Regions from separate parts of the Homo sapiens genome. Here region 2 is linked to region 1. Evidence: promoter capture Hi-C in human tissues and cell types (Jung and others, 2019). All regions are on one chromosome and are shown on one strand. The core of a region is centred on a gene start or on the middle of the fragment in contact, and the rest is flanking DNA. Distances in the headings are between cores, read along the strand shown.

Region 1 (5,258 bases), core at 1,235-3,734:
AGCAGGTGCTGAGCAGTCAGATGACAGCTGTTGATCTGTTGCAAGTGAGCAATTAGAGACTGCAGGAGAATGCCACGCTACACAGTTTACATTGAGTATTCAGAAAACCAAATATTTGAGTGCCCACTTTGTGGCAAACACTGAATGTGTACCCACACATACACACACATACACAAACACACATACACAGAGGATGTCTGTCCTTAGGTACAATTGAATGACCTCTTAAGTGAATTGGACCTTTTCCTCTTTATTTATCTATCTCTTCATTGACTAATTCGTCTCATCATTTTTAAATAGTAGTTGGGGAGGAAAGGGGAGAAACAATAGCAAGACCTTTCTAAAGGGAGCTTGTAGGTGTTTTTGTACTATAAACTCAAGTGGTTTTAAAACGAAACCCTTTTGGCATATAAAGGTCTTACTCAGGAAATGCTGAAATCCTAGATGTAGAGTTTTAATACATATTTACCTGAAATTCTAGGAATGCAAGGGTTCAAATGGACTAAGCAATATCATGGTACTCTCAGCTGGGTCCTTTTTCTAAAGGCAAACTGAAAATCTTTACCAAGCCCAATGCATTCCTTTTAAATCCCATTCATATTGTTCATTTCACCAACGAGCAGGAGGAGGGGACGCCAGGAAGGCAATCGTGGTTCTGAAATACTTTTCTGAACGTGGAGAAAAAGTTTTGTTTGTCCTTCAAGGGCATAAAGAAGAAATAAGAAATCCTCTTCCCTCTCTTTGGCCTCCCCCAAGCAAAGAGCAAGACTCTCACCAAAGCCCGCTTAACATTTTACAAACACACAAGGACAAGACAGACAGCCGGACAAGAGGGCTGGGCTGGAAATGTTGCCCTATGTTGGCTTAGCTAGCTCTGGTGCTGAGAATAAGCACCAGATTGACCTCGAGTGGTGCCCTAGGAGGCCAGTTGAAGTGGAGCTCCTTGACCAAGGCCTGGCTAAGTGGCATCAGATGACCACGCTGACGGTCATATTCTGGCCATGGGGGGCTATCTTGCGGGGCCAAGCGACCAACAGTTTGCGCAGCTCCTCGCGGAAGCTGTCGTGCAGCCAGGCGTAGATGAAGGGGTTGTAGCAGGCCGAACTCATGGCGAGCCAGTGGCAGAGCAGCTGCACCAGCCCAAAGGCGTAAGGGTCGATGGCGTGGGGGTCGAGGTCCCGCAGCAGGTTGAAGACGTGCAGCGGCAGCCAGCAGACGGCGAACACCACCACGATCACCACCAGCAAGCAGAAGGTGCGCCGGCGCCGAGCGCGGTCCCAGTCGGCCTGGCTCTGGGTCACGCAGCCCGGCACCACGCGGTTGCGGAGCTTCACTGACACCCGGACGTAAGACAGGAGGATGACCAGCAGAGGGAGCAGGTAGGTGACCAGCAGCAGCCCCCAGGCGTAGAGCTGGCGCTGGCGCTCCTGGGAGCCCCAGAACTCCTCGCAGAGGCGCACGTCGTGCGGCTTGAGCTCCACGTGATAGGTGTGCACGGCGGCGGGCAGCGCCAGCACCGCGGACAGCGCCCAGATGGCCAGCACAGCGTAGGCGCTGAGGCGCAGCGAGATGCGCCGCCTCAGCGGGTGCACCAGCACGACGTAGCGGTCCACTGCGATGGTGGTGAGCGTGAACACCGACACATAGACGGTGACCGGCTGCAGGAAGAAGACCAGGTGGCACAGGCCGCCGCCGAACACCCAGCCGCGTGGCTCGAAGGCATAGGCCAGCGTGAGCGGCACGCAGGCGGTGCACATGAGCACGTCGGACAAGGCCAGGTTGCCGATGAGGAAGTTCGTCACGTTGTGCAGCCGGCGCACCCGCGCGATCACCAGCACCAGCAGGCAGTTGCCCACCAGCCCCACGACCACCACGACGCTGTAGAGCAGCACGATCAGCCCCTTCAGCTGATGCACCAGCTGCAGGCTCTGGAAGGGCGTGACGGCTGGAGCGTCCGCGCCAGCCACCGACCCGTTGCCCGCCGAGGCCTCTGCGCTCTGGTTGGCGGGAGTTGTGACCGCCGGCGGCAGCCCAGAAAATAAGTCAGAAACCCTGGGGCCCCGAGTGGTCGATGAGGCCATGGCCACCTGTTCAAAGGTAATCAAAGTCCGTCACTTCCCTTGCCATACTCCATCCGACCTCCTACACCAGCCGCGCCCCTCCCCCATCGCCTGAGTCCTCCCTTGGGAATAACCGGCCACAGAACAACAGCAAAAGTAGCAAAAAGTGTTGTCCTCTCACCTCTGTAAAATAAACCTAAGCACGGTTAGAACATACGGTTTATTTAAACGCTTCCGCCTCTATTTACGGTCCTCGCAGTCCACGCAGGCAGACTCAGGAGCGCGATCCTACCTGGGAGTGGGGTTTGGAGAGCGGGAAAGCACTCGCGGGAAGAAGGGGCAGAATTTCTGCTGGCCCTCGGTAGTCCTCTGCCCACGTCGGTGATCCGGTCTCGCTTCTCCGCGGGAGCTGAACGGATCCAAATGTTTCCCAGTGGGCTAGCAGCTTCTTAGAGGGACTGGGAGCGCCTCCCCTCAGCTCCGCCCCCCACTCCAGCTCCCATGTATGGAAAATAGGGGTGGAGCGCGCTCTGCCATGCTCGGTGCTTAGAGAACTAGTGAAGAGGACAGTGTGGGGAGGATGGAATCCGAAACGGGAGGAGGGGCCGGCAAACCTGGCCAGAGCAGCGAAGAGGACGAATCTCTACTGCAGGAGCTTGCACGGCCCCTGGAGGGTCAGGGTCCGGAGGAGCGCACAGTGGAGGAGGGCGGAGGAGAGGCGCGAAGCGTCAGGCTATCGGGAGGAGCCGGTGCAGTCTTAGGAGGGAAGGAGCGGGGAAGGAAGTAGCGGTGGGAGATTGCAATGCAGCTGGGGGCTTGAGAGAGGCACGACTGACCCGTTCTTAAAGGCTGGATCCTGCCTAGCGGCCAGGTTGCGGAGGGCAGAGACGCTAGAGGGCTCGGGCTGGGATTTAACAGCAGAGCCTGGAGCTGGTCGCGGACCTGAGGACCCTCACCCTCCCGTGGCCCCGCCACACGAGCCCCCTGCTTGGCTGCAGCGCGCTCAGCGGGCAGCGGGTCCGGCCAAGCCAAAGGCAGGAGTCAGCACCACGGACAGCTTCCGCTGGATCTGCCGCCCCTCGGGCGGATGATGTGGGGAGGAGCAGGGGAAAATGACTAGGGAATTCCTGCCCCTCTCTGGATCCGGGTGTTTGGGGAAGGAACCTGGTCCGGTTCAAAGACCTGCCTCGCTGCCTGCTTTCTGGGCTGGGGCTGAGAAGAGTAGGGTGGAGTGGAGGCAGCTGAGCCGGGGGCCTGGGGGTCGGAGACTCATGACTTTTGCTCCTCTTGGTGGTCACCGCACTCAGTGCCAAGGACGGCGTCGTCTTTTACCTCCCGGGGTCAGAAAATGCAGCTCTCCTGCCAGTTATTCTACACAGGCACACTTCAGTCTGGCCCAGCGACTCCCCGGCTCACCCTTTCTCTCGCTTTCTTTCTCGGCTACCGCGACCTGTGCCGTATCTGGCTGCTTCTCCCAGCACAGAGTAGTTCCTGGACTGAGACTTGACCCCTCCCTCCTTGACTGAACACCCACAGGCCTCTTCTCTTCATTTTAGGATTTTTTAAAAATACTGGTAATTGCAGATTTCAGCTAGGGTAACAAAAGTAACAAACATTTGAGAAGCTTAGGCGTTTCATAAAATCTTCAGTAGTATTAAGTCCTCATTGAAATGCAAATTAGCCTGGCCCACGGGGCAAGAGCCAGGGGAGGAGGGGCCTTTGTAAGCTCCCTCCTTAGAAGCTATCTCATTCCCTCAGCCTCTTGTTTCCTTTTTCCAGAGCATGGAGCTTCATTGTCTCCTCTCTGATAAGTCCTTGTACTTTGTCCTCTGGCTGCAGATATTCCAGTTAGACTGGAAACTAATATCAATTTATTCCACCCTCCAAATTTAAATGAATCACTCATATAGAAAAAAGTCAATATTGGAACAAAAGTAATCAATGTTATGCACCTCTGTCCATCCTAAGCTCACGGTCCCTGAGTTATAATCAATTTAGCTAAAACCAGTGTGTGTGTATATATACATGTATATGTTAGGACAAGATCTCACTCTGTCACCCAGGCTGGAGTGCAGTGGCACAATCATGGCTCACTGCAGCCTCAACCTCCCAGGCCAAAGCCATCCTCCCACCTCTCAGCCTCTCAAGTAGCTGGAACTACGGGTGCACACCACCATGCCTGACTAATTTTTGTTTATTTGTTTCTTTTGAGGCGGAGTCTTGCTCTGTCGCCAGGCTGGAGTGCAGTGGTGTGATCTCAGCTCACTGCAACCTCTGCCTCCCAGGTTCAAGCGATTCTCCTGCCTCAGCCTCCCGAGTAGCTGTGACTACAGGCACGTGCCACCATGCCCAGATGATTTTGTATTTTTAGTAGAGACGGGGTTTCACCATGTTGGCCAGGATGGTCTTGATCTCTTGACCTCGTGATCCGCCCACCTCGGCCTCCCAAAGTGCTGGAATTACACACGTAAGCCACTGCGCCTGGCCTAATTTTTTGTAGAGGTGAGGTTTTGCCATGTTGCCCAGGCTGACTGAACTCCTAGGCTCAAGCAATCCTCCCGCTTCAGACTCCCAAAGTTCTGGGATTACAAGCATGAGCTACTGCACCCAGTCTCAGTATTATATATACTTTTTTAATTGCAGAGCTCTAAATAGGATACAATCAGTGCCTGCCTAATACCTTGCCCAGTAATTTTTCTCATCATTTTCACCTGCAGGGTTTTATGCACCCAAGAGCAGGGGCACTCTTTTGTTTCAAAATCTCTTAAGCAGAGGAAATTGCGATAAAGTCAGTGAAAAAGGATTTGGGATGTTGTTAGGCCTCCTAACTAGAGCCATCATTCTGGTCAATATCATTATATTGGTCAATTATCATATATAATAGTAAAAGTAATAATACGAAGACAACTTTGTCAATAACTGAAGGTCATGTAAACATGGATATTTGAAGTTTCAATATTGGGGCACCCTCCAGAGGAAAGAGTGGATCATTTGCCAAATTCCAGATAAAGTTGGGCAAGCATTTTAGTATTATCAATATTTGCAAGGTGGAAAGGAAGTGAACAGCTGTCCTTTGAAGAGGGAATGAAGATTTAATGTGGCCTATTAGGGCTTCATTCCCTCTTCTCCTCACTGGAGTTAAGGCTAGTCCCTCTCCCAGCCAGCACATCATGATTAAATCATGCTAATGTTCAGACT
Region 2 (5,258 bases), core at 1,050-3,549, 170 kb after region 1:
GAGACGTACTGGAAGAGTTCAGTGAAACAATAAATGATGTTCAAATATGAGTGAATGGTGGTCTTTAGTGGAAAATGAAATTACTTTCGTATTTGCACTATCCACAGTTACTTGGTGTGAACTGTCACTTACTAGAGAAAACTAGAGTTAAGTTTGTCTATTTTACTTTTTGAATGATTAATTTTTTTAATTTTTAAAGAAAATTTAAAAGGAAACAAACATGTTTGTATGACCATGAAGAAAATTAATGTATGATTTTCCAAAAATTTCCTTTAATTTCTTTGGAGATTATTTTTGGCCATTTTAGATCAGGATACAATCTGGAAAAAGATTTTAATAAATTGAATAACATGCTTCTGTTGTCAATTTTCTTATTACATCCCAGCATTAAAGAATTTGAAAGGAAAATACTTAAAAGTACTGTATTGATCTTGATGTTGCTTAGAGATAGTGAAACTCATATTACTGGTAGAAATTCGTATAACGAGGCCTGGCGCGGTGGCTCACGTCTGTAATCCCAGCACTTTGGGAGGCCAAGGCAGGCGGATCACAAGGTCAGGAGATCGAGACCATCCTGGCTAACATGGTGAAACCCCATCTCTACTAAAAATACAAAAAATTAGCCAGGCGTGGTGGCAGGCACCTGTAGTCCCAGCTACTCAGGAGGCTGAGGCAGGAGAATGGCGTGAACCTGGGAGGCGGAGCTTGCAGTGAGCCGAGATTGCGCCACTGCACTCCAGCCTGGGCAACAGAGCGAGACTTCGTCTCAAAAAAAAAAAAAAAAAAAAGAAATTTATATAATGAAATTAAAATATTTTTACTATTTTCTGTGACAGTGATTGATTATATACAGCCTAACCCCATTAAAATGTTTGAGCATGATATATTAAATTTATAGTTCATTTCCCATCTAAGTATGGCTTTAAGAACTTAATTGATAATTCCAGTTGCTCTGACCTCAGCAGAACATAGTTTCTGCATTTTCAAATTAATGAAAAACACCCTAAGAACCATAATGTCCCCAGAAAGGTTGCCTAATTTGTCATTACTCTCAATAGAACACAAATTATGTAAAAGTCTTGATTATAACAACATAATTGGTAATTTACTTAAAAGAAGGCAAGAAAATTAACTTTCATAAAATACATATAATTTATGAATTATGTATTTTTTTATTACTCATCCACATGTTGCCAGTCCATCAAAAGAACACCCAGACATACACAATAATAGTTCCATTCAGTCATCCTTGTTATTTTACCATAGCTTTACATACATTTTTTATTTTGTTATCATCTGAAGGTATGTTTGTCAAGGAAGGAGGATAGGAAGTGTGTTACTTAGCAGTTAGCTGTATGTATAACATTTAAATATTTAGACATACAAATGAGTCATTTTGCACTCTTGCTGCAAATGTTAGAATTAGGCCTGGTGAGGAGGCCAGGGAGGTAAGAGGCCAGAGGACTGGAAGGGCCATCCGTGGGGATGTTAATGTTTCCCTCAAGACAATGAATGATGACAGGAGCTGGCATGGAGATTAAGGCCATCCAGGAACAAAAAAGAGGAGGTTGGCCGGGCGCGGTGGCTCATGCCTGTAATCCCGCACTTTGGGAGGCCAAGGTGAGCAGATTACTTGAGATCAGGAGTTCAAGACCAGCCTGGCCAACATGGCGAAACCCCATGCCTACCAAAAAATACAAAAACTAGCTGGGTGTGATGGCACGCGCCTGTAATCCCAGCTACTCGTGAGGCTGAGGCAGGAGAATTGTTTGAATCCTGGAGGCAGAGGTTGCAGTGGGCTGAGATCGCACCACTGCACTCTAGCCCAGGAGACGGAGTGAGACTCTATCTGAAAAAAAAAAAAAGAGAGAGAGAGAGGGCGGGGTTGATAATGACCAGGAGATTGCTTCTATGAGCAGGTGAGGTGGAAAACTTCAATGGTGGGAGCCTCAGCGGAAAGGGAAGGGAAGGATTGAAATGGAAGCAGTGTGGGAACAAGGAAGACACCAACACCACCTCCCTATCAGAGGAATATGGGACATGAGAAAACAGTGTGCCCTTCAGAGGTCACAAGGGACGCAGTGCTCAGAGAATAGCTCAGGTTAAGGCAAGAACCTGCAGGGAATATTTCAAGCAAAAAATACATCAAAGAATGTGCTGCCGGGCGCAGTGGCTCATGCCTGTAATTCCAGCACTTTGCGAGGCCGAGGCAGGTGGATCACCTGAGGTCAGGAGTTCAAGACCAGCCTGACCAACATGGTGAAACCCTGTCTCTACCAAACATACAAAAATTAGCTGGGTGTGGTGGCGCACGCCTGTAATCCCAGCTACTCGGGAAGCTGAGGCAGGAGAATCGCTTGAACCCGGGAGGCAGAGGTTGCAATGAGCCGAGATTGCGCCATTGCACTCCAGGCTGGGCAACAAGAGGGAAAGTTCATCTCAGGAAAAAAAAAAAAAAAAAAAAAAACTCAGAGGTGTATTAAAAGTCATTGCTTGTACTTTGGGTGATGAAACAACATCGAGTGGTCCAGGGTGTCCAATCCCAATGGAGTCTTAGAGGAAGAGGGTACCTGGGCCTAACACAGTTTAGCTGTGGCCTGCAAGGGAGGCCCTTCCTGGCACTGAAATGTAGGACTGGATCTCCACTGTCAGCCATCACTGCCAGGTGCCATAGGCAGATCTGATGTTGGCAGCTGTGAGCAACAAGACACCTGGTTATTCGATCTTGGCACCAACACTCTCAATGGATTAACCCTGGGTAGAGGCCAGGGTGCCTTTTGAAGGCCACAGTAATCATCCAGGAGGAGTTGGTATCTATCTTGTCATATTTAAGAGGCAGCAGATACAAATGAGTCTCCACTTCACTTGTTTCACACACAGTCAGCTCTTTCATACATCATACCTCAAATTGCCTTTCATACTCTAAACCCAAACATCAGCTTTGGCACGGGGGTGCCTGCTGCTAGTCCACAGGTCAGTTTTGGCAGCAATCCTTTACGTATCTGGTCAATATTATATGTTTATAAAAATTGCATGTTTTGCCTCATTACTTCATAAAAATGAGTAGAAAATGGAAAACTGGATGATCTGATACCAGTGATTAAGAAAAAAAGCTATAAAGTTAATCCAATTTAGACACAGATAGAAACCATTAGGAGGAGGCAAGCAGGCATTCTAATCTCTATCCATCATTCATGGGACTTCAGCCAGTCATTCACGTGTTTAATTGCAACGTAAAGAACAAAATTAAGTTCAAAAGGCAACAAAGTACTATCAAGGACTGTTGGAAAGGACAATTGTAATTGAGGATTTTATAATATTTTTAGCTTTATGAGAACCGTTCAGTTGTCCCAACATTTTGAGAGGCATGTTTTGTAAGGAAACAGAGGCCTTCCTGTGCAGTCATCAGAGATTCAGTATCTCCGAGGTGAGAGTTTAAGCATCATCCTCAAGGTTTGAAAATGGGAAGGTCATTGACGTGGTTGTATAATTCTAAGTCAGGGAAGGCATCTGATAGCTGTTGTAAAGCGACTGGGTGCCTGGCCCATACCAGGGGCTTTTTCATCCGGCCTGGGCTGCCTTTCCTCTAGACTAGAACTCCCCTTAAAACCAGTGCTGAGGAGCCTGAGGGTGAGGATGGCCACAGCATTATACAGCTTTTCCATGTGGAAAAGAGCACCATGCCTAATAACACAGTCATGTGTTACTTAATGATGGTAATGCATTCTGAGAAAGGGGTTGTTAGGCAATTTTGTTGTTGTGGGAACATCATAGAGTATACAAACCTCAACAGCACAGCCTACTACACACCTAGGTTATATGGCATAGCCTGTTGCTCCCAGGCAACAAACCTGTACAGCACGTGACTGTACTGAGTACTGTAGGCAACTGGAACATGTTGTGGATCTAAACATACCTAAACATTGAAAAGGTACAGCCAAAAAATATGGTATAAAAGATAAAAATGGTATACTTGCATAGGGCACTTACCACGAATGGAGCTTACAGGGCTGGAAGTTGCTCTGGGTGAGTCAGTGAGTGAGTGGTGAGTGACTGTGAAGGCCTAGGACACTGCTGTGCACTACTGTAGACTTTACAAACACAGTACACTTAACACTAAATTTATTTTTAAACATTTCTTTCTCCAATAAGTTAACCTTAGCTTACTTTAACTTTTCTACTTTCTAAGCTTTTTAATTTTTTAACTTTTTGACTCTTTTGTAATAACACTTAGCTTAAAACACACGTTGTCCAGCTATACAAAAATATTTTCTTTCCTTATATCCTATAAGAAAACTTTTTTCTATTTTAAAATTAATTTTTTACTTTTTAAACTTTTTTGTTAAAAACTAAGACACAAACACACATTAGCTGGGCCTACACAGGGTCAGGATCATTAAGACATCACTAGATGACAGGAATTTTTCAGCTCCATTATAATCTTTTGGGACTCCCATCACGCATATGGTCCGTCGCGGACCAAAACATCCTTTATGTGGTGCATGACTATATCAGTAATATTAAGGCTACTACTAACAGTGATATTAATGGCAAACATTCACTGCATGTTAACTGTGTAGGATATAATAAATTCCTCTTCAAAGGGTTTAGCCTGTAAATTGTTAAGTACAATGAGTTCTGAGATCCTCTCCAAGGAACTAATGTATCAGTATGTTCAGCTCCCCTGTTCTTTGTCCTTCATTTTAAAGTTTAACTTCCTCATAGTTTCAGTAAACAACCTTTTCCACCAGTTTTAATCAGTAGTTCACATCTGTTCCCCTGGTCACCTGCTCCGTCCTGACTCATCCTGGTCACCCGCTTTTTTTTTTTTTTTTGAGACAGAGTCTCACTCTGTCGCCCAGGCTGGAGTGCAGTGGCCCCATCTCCGCTCACTGCAAACTCCGCCTCCCGGGTTCACACCATTCTCCTGCCTCAGCCTCCCAGGTAGCTAGGACTACAGGCGCCCGCTACCACGCCCAGCTAATTTTTTGTATTTTTAGTAGAGACGGGGTTTCACCATGTTAGCCAGGATCGCCTCCATCTCCTGACCTCGTGATCCACCTGCCTCGGCCTCCCAAAGTGTTGGGATTACAGGCGTGAGCCACTGTGCCCAGCCTGGTCACCTGCTTTCACCTGAGTCACCCTTGGTCACCTGCTCTGACCTAAGTCACCTTTAGTTACCTGTTCCCTAACCGTCTTTCCCGCTGAAGCTACTCACCCCATCACTCAGACTTGTACCCCTACTGTCTTTAAAATAG

Evidence for each region. Contacts are between HindIII fragments. The study calls those that stand out against the background at their distance.
Region 2: a contact is called between a fragment that was not itself captured here and the fragment with the promoter of PRLHR in region 1, in 3 of the 25 tissues and cell types used here (hippocampus, spleen and thymus).

Annotation. Positions count from the first base shown.
Region 1 is chr10:118,593,164-118,598,421 of GRCh38, forward strand. It overlaps PRLHR (prolactin releasing hormone receptor), which reads right to left and starts at 2,485. Exons shown (of 2, transcript NM_004248.3): 1 at 2,353-2,485; 2 at 1-2,087. The coding sequence starts at 2,081. The coding sequence ends at 969. RefSeq lists enhancers at 1,444-2,252, 2,253-3,061, 3,062-3,870. The HindIII fragment of the contact is 7,132 bases long and covers 1-5,063 here.
Region 2 is chr10:118,764,695-118,769,952 of GRCh38, forward strand. No RefSeq gene overlaps it. Among named protein-coding and RNA genes, the nearest start is that of CACUL1, 12 kb to the left of the region's middle. The HindIII fragment of the contact is 5,691 bases long and covers 1-5,145 here.